2 separate regions of the Homo sapiens genome follow, and region 1 is linked to region 2. Evidence: promoter capture Hi-C in human tissues and cell types (Jung and others, 2019). All regions are on one chromosome and are shown on one strand. Each heading gives the region's core, a stretch centred on a gene start or on the middle of the fragment in contact. The rest is flanking DNA. Distances are from core to core; before and after follow the strand shown.

The links. The method cuts DNA at HindIII sites, captures the fragments that hold promoters and counts their contacts. A contact is called where the count stands out against the background at its distance.
Region 1: a contact is called between a fragment that was not itself captured here and the fragment with the promoter of EIF3J in region 2, in 1 of the 25 tissues and cell types used here (lymphoblastoid cells).

What each region holds. Positions count from the first base shown.
Region 1 is chr15:44,877,069-44,884,319 of GRCh38, reverse strand. It overlaps the pseudogene SORD2P. Among named protein-coding and RNA genes, the nearest start is that of TERB2, 76 kb to the left of the region's middle. The HindIII fragment of the contact is 3,597 bases long and covers 2,722-6,318 here.
Region 2 is chr15:44,534,448-44,541,147 of GRCh38, reverse strand. EIF3J (eukaryotic translation initiation factor 3 subunit J) reads right to left here and starts at 4,001. Exons shown (of 8, transcript NM_003758.4): 1 at 3,911-4,001; 2 at 3,721-3,824. The coding sequence starts at 3,953. It overlaps EIF3J-DT (EIF3J divergent transcript), which reads left to right and starts at 4,225. Exons shown (of 2, transcript NR_034170.1): 1 at 4,225-5,105; 2 at 5,674-6,643. RefSeq lists silencers at 3,499-3,548, 3,569-3,878, 4,069-4,238 and enhancers at 4,409-4,858, 4,546-5,333. The HindIII fragment of the contact is 9,957 bases long and covers 1,227-6,700 here.

The DNA.
Region 1 (7,251 bases), core at 3,271-5,770, 340 kb before region 2:
CCTTATCAAGTTCTTCTGCTCTGAAAAAACAGAATCCTTATCAATTCTTCCTTTTACTTTCTCTATAAAGAGCCCTAGTCATAGAATATATTTCTAAATTTGCCTTCCCCTCCTCCAAATCTCTGCTACCAGGCAACAACCTTCAAGACAGCTTTAAAGTGTTATTGCTCAGGAGAAAACAAATACAACTCCAGTGTGGCCATTATGTCATTATTCCAGTGGCTTTTGCTTTGGTTCTCTGTGTTTTGTTTTCATAATTTAAAGTCCAAGGAGTGTCTCCTTAAAGTGGCCCTCAGCTCTTAAGCCATTCCTGGGGTCTTCTCCTTCAGCTTCACCCATTGGAAGGACATGCTTAGAAGACTGTGAGGAAACCCCATAAAGCAAGGAGGGTTAAACTGGGTTTTAAATTCAGTGGGTAAGTGAAGGCAAGTACCTCATCTCTCCAAGCAAGACCTTCTTAGCTGCTAAGAGCAGGAGCTACTGAAAGAACCAGTCATGCACAGCTAAGAGCTGTGGGAGGTATCTAAAAGCAAAGGACCTGACTGATTCCATAAGTCATTCCACTGCAAAAATCCATTCCACTGCCTTGTACATCTTGTAATGCTCCCCCACCCCGCACCTACACATGCACGCGTGCGCACACATACACACTTCCTTTTTTGTCATTACTGGGGCTCCAGAGATTGATCCGTCTTCATCACCAAATTTTTTGGGGGCTTTTATACTGTATAGAACACTTTACCACATCCTGGTTAAGAAATGAGGCCTTGTCATCAGTGGGATTCCAGTGCATTTGGGGAAGGGGTGATTACTGGTGAAAGTACAGGCTGTGCCCTGTGTGTTGGGCAGGCCAGGGGAGACAACTTCAAGGGCTGGGGCAAAGTCTAATGGATTAGGTAAGGGGATTAGCAGTGTGTCTGTGAAACCACCACTGCAAAATCATAACTGAGACAGTGAAAGAAATCTGACCTAAAATCTTGCTTCTAACCTCCAAGCTGTCCTTCTTCATTCCTGGGCATGGTCTGAACCAACTTCAGGGAGATCTTAGTTTTTAATTTATAGATTAAAACAGAGATAACAGCCCTTCTCCAAAACAAACCTCCTTCTTGCCTGGGGACTAGACTGCCTTTGTAGGAGTAATGAATTAGCCACAAGAGTAGAAATTATGGTTTAGGAGTCACGCAGCTGGAGACTACAGGATTCTGACCCTCCCCAAATTGCTCCTGGGGATAACATCACTATTATAAAATGAAATGTTAGTGCTTTAGATATTTTGCAGACCCTGCACTTGATGGATCAGCTGGCACCACCCAGATTGATAAACTGGCTCATCTGATTTTGGGGCCCCTACCCAGGAACTGACTCAGCCCAAGAAGACAGCTTTGACCCCTTATGATCTCACCTCCGACCCAACTAGTCAGCACTCCTGACTCACTGGTTTTCCCCCACCCTCCAAATTATCATTAAAAACGCCGATCTCTGTATGCTTGAATGCTTGGGGAGACTGATTTGAGTAATAATAAAACTCCAGTCTCCCGCAAAGCTGGCTCTGCATGAGTTACTTTCTTTACTGCAGTTCCCCTGTCTGGATAAATTAACTTTGTCTAGGCAGCAGACAAGGTGAACCCATGGGCAGTTACAAATTTGGGGCTTGCTGGGGCTTGCCCTTGTGGCTGCCTGCCCGTGGTTTGGTAGACTCCCTCCAGCAACAGATCCAGAGGCCAGCCCAAGTGGCCACCTAGTTCTCTTGGACTCTAGGCTCTACTGGTGGGGTGCTGCTGATCCAATGGGCATGGATTTAATTGCAATACAGAAATAGTCCTGGGAGATATCCCATAACTGTAGCTCCATGCTGGAATGTTTGTCTGTAGCCCCATGGTGGGGTGTCTGTCTCCAGCTCCACCACTGGATGTCTGAGACTCTAGCCCTATCACTGGGTGTCTGTCTGTAGCCCATCACGTAGTGTCTGTAGCTGTAGCCCCATTATGGGGTATCTGATTTGGTGAGTATTCTAGGTGCTGCCAACAGCCCCTTCCTTCTCCTATTTGTCAGCCTCTCTGGACGTGCTGCTGTCTCTTGGTTGCCTTGCAGGATGTCTGTCTGTAGCCCCATCATGGTGTGTCTGTTTTTAGCCCCATCACGAGATGTCTACTGGTGGGGTATCTAATTGGATGGAGAATAGGGGGACTTGTTTGGAGGAATACTCTTGGTTTGTGACTGGGTCTGGAATCTGTGTCTCAAAGGCCTTCTGTCTGTCTTGTCTTTGTTGTGTGTGTGTTTGTATATGTTGAGGGGATCTCTGAGGGAATTGCTGATGGAAGTCCAGCAGGCCTAACTCAGAGAACCCTCCGTAAGTCAGGTTACATCTGGTGAGCCCTGAAGAAAGCTCAACAGGCCTGACATGGGGTGACTGTCCACTCTTCATCTTGCCCAGAGACCACCCATTTAATTACCGGTTGGAAGTCATCCCTCTCCACTTGGAGTGGATCAAAGACTATAGGAACCAACATGAGAAAATTTGAGCCTTGCCAGGTCAATATTGGGTGCTGAACGAGGTGACTAGTGTCTGTTTAGTTATGTGTATTTTGCTTCGGCTGGGATGGAAAATATTAATTCAGTTCCCCATGCAACCCGTCAGGCAGCATCTTGCAAAAGTGAGAAGCTTTTGCCTACGGTTCCATAAAACAGAAATGGATGATTTTCTTTTGTAACAGGGCTTGGCCCCCACAGCTATGGCACAGTAAGCAGATTCATCAAAAGCTGCTCCATTCTTCTGGAAGCTTCAGAGAAAGGGAACACAGAAATCTGGTATGCTGGTAAAAAGGGTAAGAATTTCTCACCAGCCGAGTTTCTGGTCTCTGTCTCTCTCTCTCCTCTCTCTCTCTCTGTGTGTGTATGTGTGTGTGTGTATTTGTATAAATGATAAACATCACTGTTTGTCTCCTCTGCAAGGGTTTGATTAGTAGAAGAAAGCATTTGTGAGACTAGTCTTAGGTGGTAGCAAATCTGGTGTACTTTGTGCTAAGAATTTGTCTTTCTGTGTTCTTCTGTAATGGAGAGAAGGGAATCACAGAATAGAATGTGGGTTTAAGACTCCTGTAAGCCCACTTTTCAAGCCATCCTGGCAGGCTGCTCAGTTACAAACTTTGCTGTGTGTCCCTGAAACCAATACTAGATGAAATTTATCTGTTTGTTTTGTGTCCTTAAGAGCCCAATCTTGTGACCATGTGGGGATACTTTCTCTTGGTCTCTGCCACCCAGAGGACAGGAATTTGGGGATTCATGTCATAGTTAACCCTAAAAGTTATCTTGAGCAGTTAAAAGCCTTTGCAAGCTCAAAATTGGCTGCTCTAGGCTTCTTCTAGGAAGAGCAATAGAAATTGCTCAATGCTGTAACTCAGTAGCTAAGGCCTTGTCTTTTGACAATGGCATCCCAGGTTCAATTCTTGGCTTAGGGAATGAGTCTTTTCTGGTTTATTTGTGTAACTTTTTGACCCTTATTGATTCTTTTTCCCCCATGGACCACTTTTGATTTCTCCTCTTGAGTTTTCCTTTGAACTACCTTGGGAAGATTCTAAATCTTGTTAAAAAAAAAAAAAAAGAAAGAAACTGATTACTCTCTCTTTGAATCACCATGTGTATCCATTATAACCTTATTTAAAACATTAATTTCACATGGGAAGTTACCTGTGGTGAAGTTCAAAAGCAAGGAACATTGACTGTCTGTGCTGGCTAGAGTCTAGTAATTAGATATTTAAAAAATAATTTTTTAAAGAGCTGTATGGTTAAAATCAGCTTCATTAAAAGCAGATATCCAAACTGTACATATATTTAAAATACCTTTACTTTTTTTTCTCTTCTTGGATCTTATTTTTCTAAAGAAAAAAAAGGTTTTTTCTTCTCAGTTGACTGAATTGTTTTTCTCCACTTTTGTCTTCTCAACACTCTTGATGCCCACATGAAAGAACCTAAGATAAATTCTAACAGCCTGGGACTCTTAGGGAAAAACAGAGGAGGTGCCACAGACCCCATTCTGGGAAAAAGCTCTGTTTTTCTCATGGAACCCTAGGAATTGAAAGAGAATAGATCCCTCTCAAAATCTAAGGCTGTATTCTGTTTTATATTACATTACCTGACATTTTTTACTTTGGCAGGTATCAAAAATTACTTTGCATTATTTGAGAGCTTTTAGTCTTGGTGTGTAATAACCAGGTAGGAAATATACTTTAAGGGATAACTAATAGCAGTTAAGAGGGATACTTGGCTCTTGGATTTTTGGATTAGAGAAGCATGCTCTTGGCCACCTGGAAGGTATGGAAATATCCCCACCCCGAACTGAGAGGAGACTCCCATGGAGGATGGGCTGATTTCAAAATGGGCTAATTGGCTTTGGGTTGCTTTGCAATGACATGCATGGTAGAAGTATTGCACTATCTTCTCCCATAGTATTTCCCTCTTTTGGGGGGATCCAGGATGCAGTATACAAATGGCACCCTTAATTTTGGGGATATGTTTTTGCCTTCTAGCTATGCCTTCTTATTGGGCCCTAGAAATGCCATGCTTTCCTGGTGCTGTTCCTCCAAGGGTGTCACCTTGAAGCCAGTAATCCAATTAAGAAACTAGCAAATGAAAAATCTTACAAGTACCAGATCTTCTGTCTGTCTGTCTATGTATATGTGTTGTATGCATGATGTTTGTATAAAAGAGCTCTAATTGGCTTAGAAAAATAAGCACTTAAATCAAGTATTTTGTCAGAAAAATAGAAACTTTTTAATGCCTGTTTGTTCACATAATTTCAGTGATCTTTTGGAAATAAAAACAGTTTTAAAGATCACTGGTAAATAAAAAATGTCTTCACAATTTAGATGTTTGGTCTAAATAAGGTCAGATGTTAGGTTTGCTAAATGCTTTAAAGTCATAAACTGTTTCTTTGACTTTCGAAAATTGTTAGACTTACCTACTTTGGAGCCATTAGAAATTCTAGCTAAGGTCTGGGGACATGTGGAATTAGCCATGCCCCCTAGCTATGCTGGAGGCAGACCTTATCTGCATTTCTGTCTGATGTCCTAGGCTCCACACTTAGTACATAATTAAAACCACTTATTTATCAGGGTTTTCATCAAAAACAAAAGTTGCTAAGTGTTAACGTTGTAACGTGTAATTGAGACTGCTGGAGAAATTGTTTTACATGCAAGATGTGTAAGGAAAGTAGAATGTGCTTTAGCTAAAGGATTAAATAAGGTAAGGGAATATGGCTTTTGTCAAAGGGAATGTAATTTTGTCTAGTTCAGAGGGCTTTAAAGATCGTCTTAACCTAAAAGAGTAACAGGACAAAACTGAAGGTTTAAGCAAGTTGAAAAGTGTTTGTGAAGGGTTGGTCTTAAGTTTTGAAGGGGATTATTTAATTTTTTTCTGTATGTTGAACATAAAAGCACACTAATGCCGGGCCAGAATCTGGGCCCCTGTGTCTAAACAAAAGGGTTTTCTTAGAAAATTAATCTGCTGTTTAATGGAAAATTGTAAAGTGTTCTAAAAAAGTTTATAAAAACCTTACCTTATGGTCAAACTAATTAAAACTGGATAATTTATAACATTTTATTTAAAAACTAGCTTTAGCATTAAAGAGGCATTAATGCAAACATGAAATTTGGTTTTCTCTTTTGAAAAAGATTTTTGTGTTATTGATATATGTTCCAAAATTATGTGAAACTCCTGTAATTCTGATATGACTTTGTATATGTTATCATTAATAATTATAATTGCTATGTTAAATTATTGTGTTCCCCAGAAGTAACAAATTTCCTTGTCAATTGTGTCTTTAACTGTGGCTGGCCTAAAACTTTTTGTCATCCACAGACAATTATTGTCTTTTGATCCTCTTTAAATGGTTTTATAATCAGCTATAACACTCTGACAGGTGCTCTTAAATGCAGGTTTCTGAAAACTTTGGAGATTGTGACATTAGAATAGAGGAAAAACTTTCAGGACTCTCATTGAGAGCTGAAATGTTCATGAATACTAAGCAGAATGGAAGTTAACTGCATGGGCTGAACTAATAGAAGACTGAGGCAACTTTTTTTGACTTTTTGTTTAAAACATTGCTGATCATTTTTTGTTTTTCAGAGCCAAGAAAACCTTTCTTTTGAGCTATTTACAGCTTTTAATATTGAGTAAAGTACACATCTGTAAACAAAATTTGGAGCATATTTGATTCTCTCTTCCTGATTTTGCCAGGATTTGGTAACTATTTGTGAGTATTCTTATGGCAATATAGTTACTTCCATAAGTGCAATAAGAATGTTTTCATTTGCAACAGGACAAAATTGAAGAAACTGGTTATTTTACCAAGGCTTTGACTGGAATCGTATGCTTGCCTTTAAGGAATAAAAGCCTCTTGAGGCCAGGCATGGTGGCTCATGCCTGCAATCCCAGCACTTTAGGAGACCGGGGCAGGCAGATAGCTTGAGCTCAGGAGCTCAAGACCAACCTGGGCAACTTGGTGAAACCCCGTCTCTACTTAAAATACAAAAATTATCTGGGTGTGGTGGCACATGCCTGTAGTTCCAGCGACTTGGGAGGCTGAGGTGGGAGGATTGCTTGAGCCTGGGGGATGGAGTTGCAGTGAGCAGAGATTGCATCACTGCACTCCAGTCTGGGTGACAGAGCAAGATCCTGTCTCAAAAACAAAACAAAACAGAGAAAACAAAGCCCCTTGGGAAAACTGGCCTCATGCCTTGTCTACACAGTCCCTGTACAGGGTTCCTGATCTGTGGTGAGTAAAGAATGTCACTTTCTAACAGGCCCAGGAGCCCCAAGTTATCTTGGGACCTCAAGAGGAGAGGAATTGACCCAACTCATGGTTATTTGAGGGTACAAACCCATGGGCTTGGCCTGGCTTTAAAAAAGTCTTGTTTGAGATTCCTTATGGAACAGAGTTCCATCAAAGCCAATTTAAAAAGCCTATGTGAACAATAATTATTGTTGCTGCACTTATGCAAGTAATCAGGCAGAGCATAATAAGACTAAAACTTATTTTGCAAGTAAAGTTGACCTACTGTGATTTATTTTTAATTAAAAAATGGGGACTGGAGACAGAAAAATTATGCTCCAAAAATAAAAAACAATCATTGTTAGTTGTTCTTGAGTTTTTTCTGCAGTTTGGACTAAATCCTAAATTATTCATGGACTACAAGTCTCCAAATTAATGTTTTCAAATCTTTACTTTTAAAAGTTGGAATTGCATGCCTTATG
Region 2 (6,700 bases), core at 2,752-5,251:
TCAGGATAGTAAAAAAGGTAAATAAAGCCAGGGTGATGGGAAACTATGCTCCCGAGTTCTCATCTTTTTAACTGGGGAAAAGCATAGTCTTTTCTTGCCATATATATTAACGGTTGTACAGTTTCACCTAAGTCCACTTCTGCCACTGCCAGACAGCTATTTGAAAAGTCAAGGACAGCAAAATACTAAGTCTACTAAATGAGAGTAAAGTGCTGGAGCAAATTATAATAACAAAAACATCAGTTTTCCTTTCATTTCCCAGGACATTACAAATGACATTAAACCTGTATTTTTAAAGGTTAAGTACTAGATGCTGACATGAACAGAAGACCTCACGGAAACTAAGCCTTGTCTGCAACTCCTCATAAAAAGTACAAAAACATAAGAATTCAGAAATTTGGTGATATGGCTGAGTCTGCTGGCTCACGCCCATAATCCCAGCATTTTAGGAGGCTGAGGAGGATAGATCACTTGACTCCAAGAGTTCGAGACCAGCCTGGGCAACTTGGCGAAACTCTATCTCTACCAAAAACACAAAAATTAGCCAGTCTCACAAATCTGTCTCAAAATAAATAGGCCAGGTGCAGTGGCTCACACCTGTAATCTCAGCACTCTGGGAGGCCAAGGCGGGAAGATCGCTTTAACCTCAGGAGTTTGAGACCAGCCTGGGCAACTTGGCGAAACTCCACCTCTACCAAAAACACAAAAATTAGCCAGTCTCACAAATCCGTCTCAAAATAAATAGGTCAGGTGCAGTGGCTCACATCTGTAATCCCAGCACTCTGGGAGGCCGAGGCGGGAAGATCACTTTGACCTCAGGAGTTTGAGACCAGCCTAGGTAACATGGCGAAACCCTGTATCTACAAAAAAAAAAAAAAAATATATATATATATATATATATATATATATATAGCCAGGCGCGGTGGCTCACGTCTGTAATCCCAGCACTTTGGGAGGCCGAGGCGGGTGGATCACGAAGTCAGGAGTTCAAGACCGGCCTGGCCAAGATGGTGAAACCCCGTCTCTACTAAAAATACAAAAATTAGCTGGGTGTGGTGGTGGGCGCTTGTAATCCCAGCTACTCGGGAGGCTGAGGCAGAGAACTGCTTGAACCTGGGAGGCGGAGGTTGCAGTGAGCCAAGATCGTGCCACGGCACTCCAGCCTGGGTGACAGAGCAAGACTCTATCTCAAAAAAAAAAAAAAGAAAAAAATATGTAAATTAGCTGGGCACGGCGGTGCACACCTGTAATCCCAGCTACTAGAAAGGCTGAGGCTGGAGAATCACTTGAATCCGGGAGGCGGAGGTTGCAGAGATCGTGCCACTGCACTCCAGCCTGGGAAACGGGGTGAGACCTTCTCTCAAAAAATTAGATGAATAGATAGATTGCTTTAAGTTAAAAAAAAAAAAAAAAAAGAAAAAGAAATTTAGCACTAAAACAGCAACTGGGGCCGGGTGTGGTGGCTCACGCCTGTAATCCCAGCACTTTGGGAGGCCAAGGCGGGCAGATCACAAGGTCAGGAGATTGAGACCATCCTGGCTAACACGGTGAAACCCCGTCTCTACTAAAAATAGAAAAAATTAGCCGGGCGTGGTGGTGGGCACCTGTAGTCCTCGGGAGGCTGAGGCAGGAGAATGGAGTGAACCTGGGAGGCGGAGCTTGCAGTGAGCGGAGATTGTGCCACTGCACTCCAGCCTGGGTGACAGAGCGAGACTCCATTTCCAAAAAAAAAAGAGCAACTGGACAAGATAATCTTTGTGGTCCCTTACAACTTGTAAATATCCAAAACTTGTTCCAAGTGATCAGAATTATATTCATCAGAGGCTGGGTACGGTAGCTCACGCCTATAATTCCAGCACTTTGGGAGGCTAAGGCAGGAGAATCACCTGAGGTCAGAAGTTCAAGACCAGCCTGGGCAACATGGCGAAACCCCGTCTCTACTAAAAATACAAAATTAGCCAGGCGTGGTGGTGCGTGCCTGTAATCCCAGCTACTTGGGAGGCTGAAGCAGGAGAATCACTTGAACCCAGGAGGTGGAGGTTGCAGTGAGCCAAGATCGCGCCATTGCACTCCAGCCTGGGCAACAAGAGCGAAACTCCATCTCAAAAAAAAAAAAAAAAAGAATTATATTCATCAAGATCGATACCATTTAGATCCCTTAATCCCAAGGAAGTTATTCCATGACATTAGTCTAGACTATCCATTAAAACTTCATTTTCTGCAACTTCTTTCCTAATATCTCTAATCTTTTCTCTGCATTTGTTAATTTATTCCCAAATTTCATAACAGATGTCTTAACTGCCACTTCCTATATGCATGGAAAAAAATGAAAGGACCAATATGAACCCAAGGCTCAAAACTGAAAATCTGCTACAATGTAGAGGGGTAACTAATATCTTGTAATGCGGCTGGTAACAAAATCTAGTCCCATGTTTCTACAACATGTAAATAAAGCATCTGAGTGTCTTCAAACAATAACCAGTCGATTTATTAACTTCAATGTGTGCAAAGCTCACAACATTCTTGAACCTCAGGCTGTCAGTAAATCGGACATCCACACATCCAACCTCATCGGACTGGGGAGAGAACAGAAAAACTCAAAACAACATTCCTATTAAGTTCATAGTGATTATCTAGCTTAAACTTTTCAGCCCAGGCAGGATTTATAGGGTTCTCCGTTTGTGTTTATAAATTAGGAGAAATTCACTAAATTAGGCAAAACCACAAAAAAAAATCATTTTCCATTTCACACAAAACTTTATCTGCACAAATATAACAAGATTTTGAGAACTTTGTTAATAAGAGTCTTAACATTTTGGATTTGAGACTTCTGTAACTACTGTAAAAAAAAAAAAAAACCATGTAGAAGTAAATGTCACTTACAGCTGTATAATGAACCCTTCGGAGTTTTCAAAATCAAACGACTGAGGTAAAAATGATTATCTACAAGGCACAGACAAAACAACAACAACAACAAAAAACCACGGGCCCGTCATCTACAACCACCACCAAATCTTCAATATTTCCTTAGGTGTCGTATGTGTGTAGTTGAGTAACTGTCGTCTCTCCATTTCTCAGGTCACGGTGTGAACTACCTGGGTTTCTGTCCACTAACTGCGGGCTATCTCAGTGGTCAGTTCATTCTTTTTACCACAGGGTGGGGGAAGGGAGAGCCAAAAGTTATTTCCCTTTACTGTTTCTAGCTGTCTCGTGTGGGAAAAAAAGGTTGAAATTCAACTACAATATTTCACTCATCTAATCCCTCGAACAAACTGTATAAGTAGACCTCAGGGTCATAAATGAGTTACTGGCCCTGGGCTGACTTGAGCTCGAAAAGACAGGCGAGTCTCAAGGCTTTCCATATGGATAAGCTACAAGGCTCAATTCCCAACTTCCCGGTCTCATTCCTGCGAGAGGCTCCGGACCGCGAAGCTTGCACGTGGGCCGACCCGGCCGATGCTGTCACCTTTCGTCGCCAGCCGGCGGGTGGGATCCACGCCGGAGAGCAGACTCTCAACCGGCGAGGGAGTCCGGGAGGCCACGCTGCCAGTCTTCGGCCCACACATGGCCGGCAAGCGGAGGGGAAGAGAGCACCGCCAGGCCCTATGCTCGCGCCTGGACCCACGGCCCGCAGGCCCCGGCAGCGACCCGGGGCCCAGAGTCGGCCGGCAACAGCGCCAGCCCGCTTCCGCGCTGCCCGGCGCCCTAGCCCGCACCCACCTTGACGTCCTCGTCCTCGTCCTCGCCTTCCCAGCGGTCCCCGCCGGCAGTGCCGCCGCCCCCCACCTTCCGCACTGGGTCTTCCACGGAGAAAGCGTCGGCGTCTACGGAAGAAAGCGAGCCGTGTTAGTGCCTGCCACTGCGTGGGGCCGGCGCCGGCCCGGGCCCTGCCCCAGCAACTTCTCCTCACCCCAGGAGTCCGAGTCCCCCGCCGCCGCCGCCGCCGCCGCCATCTCGAGCCGGGTGTGAGCGTGTGTGAGAGGGAGAGCTAGCGAGGAGTTAGCACGGCGGAGGTGAGTCACTGGGTTTGCTCTCGTTGACCGGCGCGGAGCAGGATGGGACCGTGGCTGACTGTGCGCCGAGCCGAGGCCACGCCCCCTCAGGCGGCGGCGGCGACGCGCGCGGGTAAGAAGTGGGCGGGGAACGCGGTCGGTGGCGCTGCGGGGCTGAGGGAGAGGCGGAGGGGGGGGCGGAGGGGGGCGGAGGGAGGGGCGGAAAGAGCAGAGGGAGGGGCACAGGGGGCTGAGGAGTGCTGGGTCGGGCTTCCAGCTCCCTACAACGCAGACCAGTACTGGAGTTCGTGGTGCTGGAAGACCGCCGCCCGACTCTGGGCCCCGGGTAGGAAACGTAAGTGCCAGGAAGTTAGCAGAGTGGTTCTTTGGCTGGCGCCTGAACCTCGCCAGTCTTCGTCGCCCCTCCCCTGCCAACGCCTACCCCGCTTCGACCGGAGGGTGCGCTGTCCCTCTGGTCACTGTGATCACCGTCCATGGCCGCCTGCGGATACCCACGCCGTGCTCAGAAGAGGGCTCTGAGGCCACGCCCGCCTGTGGGGTCGGTGGCCGGGCTTCCGGGACCCCAGAGGGAGTCGTCGCGCGCTAGGTGGAGGGGACCCCTCTGGAATCCGGCGATCCCCGGGCGCAGATGCAGGAGCGGGTGGGGAGAGCCGCGTTCCTGGCATGTTTGCCTCGAGTTAGTCACGAAGGAATCGAAGAGAGCCTTAGTCTTCGAGGCTTTTCCCTTCCTGTGAGCCCCTTTGAGGCCAGCACATTGATTTTTTTTTCTTTCGCAGAACAATTTCGGACCTCCTGGGGTCTATGCTAGGTATGAGGTGTATCTTTGCCCTCCATCAAGTAGCAAAGATGGACATGTAAACAAATTTCGACACTGTGATGACTGCCACAAAAAGCAGCATTATGAGGTTGAATGTAAAAGGATAACCTTAGCGGCGGCGGGGGCCGGAGGATGAAGGAAGGCTTCCTGAGGTAGGCGCTGGTTGAAACTGAAGTTGGAGAGAGCAAGTGGCATTTGCTGAAGTGCATTTCCGGTAGAAAACTCCAGTGGTCCCTCACCTGACTGAGTGGCGCAGTCAGAGATAAATGGAACAGGTACACTGACCAGAAAGGGCAAGATGGGCTAAACTTCGCCGTTGGGCCACTGGGCTCCCCCGCAGGATTTTAAAGAGCTAGCCAGTAGATGGATTTTGTTTTTGTTATTTTCGCAATTTATTTTCAAATATGTAATACGCGAACTTGGTACAACATTCATGTGATAAAAAGGTAGATACGTGGGCAGGACGCGGTGGCTCACGCCTGTAATCCCAGCATTTTGGGAGGCCGAGATGGGCGGATCATTTGCTGTCAGGAGTTCGAGACCAGCCTGGCCAACATGGTAAAACCCCACCTCTACTAAAAATACAAAAATCACCTGGGCGTGGTGGCGGGCGCCTGTAATCCCCACTACTAGGGAGGCTGAGGCAGGAGAATCGCTTGAACCCGGGAGGCGGAGGTTGCAACAGTGAGCCGAGATCGCGCCACGGCTCTCCAGCCTGGGCGACAGTTAGACCCGTCTCAAAAAAAAAAAAAAAACAAAAAAGGTAGATACAACGATCAGCTGCTCCGCTCCGTTCTTTCTAGTGGTAACCATTGTTCCCCCTTTCTGGTGTTATCTTTTCAGAGTCTACAAATAAACATTTTATAAAGATGATCCTTCAATACATATTCTACAGCCCAGTTAAAATGTGAGAGGCCATGATCTACAGACAGCCATTTATAAAGGTGGATCAGGGCCGGACACGGTGGCTCAACGTCTGTAATCCCGGCACTGTGGGAGGCCAAAGCGGGAGGATCGCTTGAGCCCAGGAGTTCGAGACCAACCTGGCCAACATGGTGAGACCCCATCTTTACAAAAAAATATATATATCCAGGCATAGTGGTGTGCACCTGTGGTCCTGTGGTCCCAGCTACTCAGGAAGCTGAGGCAGTTGAGGCTGCAGTGAGCCACGTTCTGGCCACTACACTCCAGCCTGGGCATCAAAGTGACAAGACCAAAAAAAAAAAAAAATGTGGATTGGAAGGAGGCAAGAAAGAAGTCAGGAAAAGGGTGGAATGTAAGTCCCTAAGGACACAATCTTACTCACAATTGTATCTCCAACATTTGGCATAATGCCTAATACGTAAGTATTTTATGAATTAATTAAACGAGAACACAAGCCTAAATTAAGGCAATGGCAATGGAGAAGAAGAAACCAACTTGAGAAATATTTAAAGGTCATTGTCAATGGAACTTAGTGACTTTAATGGTTAATTTTATCTATCAACTTGGCTAGGCGATGCTACCCATGTTACTCAGTTTTTGGTCAAACACTAGTCTAGTTGTTGCTATGAATTGTATTTGTTAGATGTGATTAACATTTAAATCAGCAGACTTTGATTAAAGTACATTACCCTCTATAATGAGGGTGGGCCGCATCCGGTCAGTTCAAATTAAAACGAGACCCTTAAGAAGAAGCAATTCAGCCTCCAGACTGCAGCGTCAAATCTCCCTGGGTCTCCAGGCTGTTTGTCTGCCCTGCAGATTTCAGACTTGCCAGCTCCCAGAATAATGTGAGCCAATTCCTTAAAATAAATCTCTTTCTGCATATACACATCCTATTGATTCTGTTTCTCTGGAGAACCCGTACTAATATAGTGTCTGACTAGAT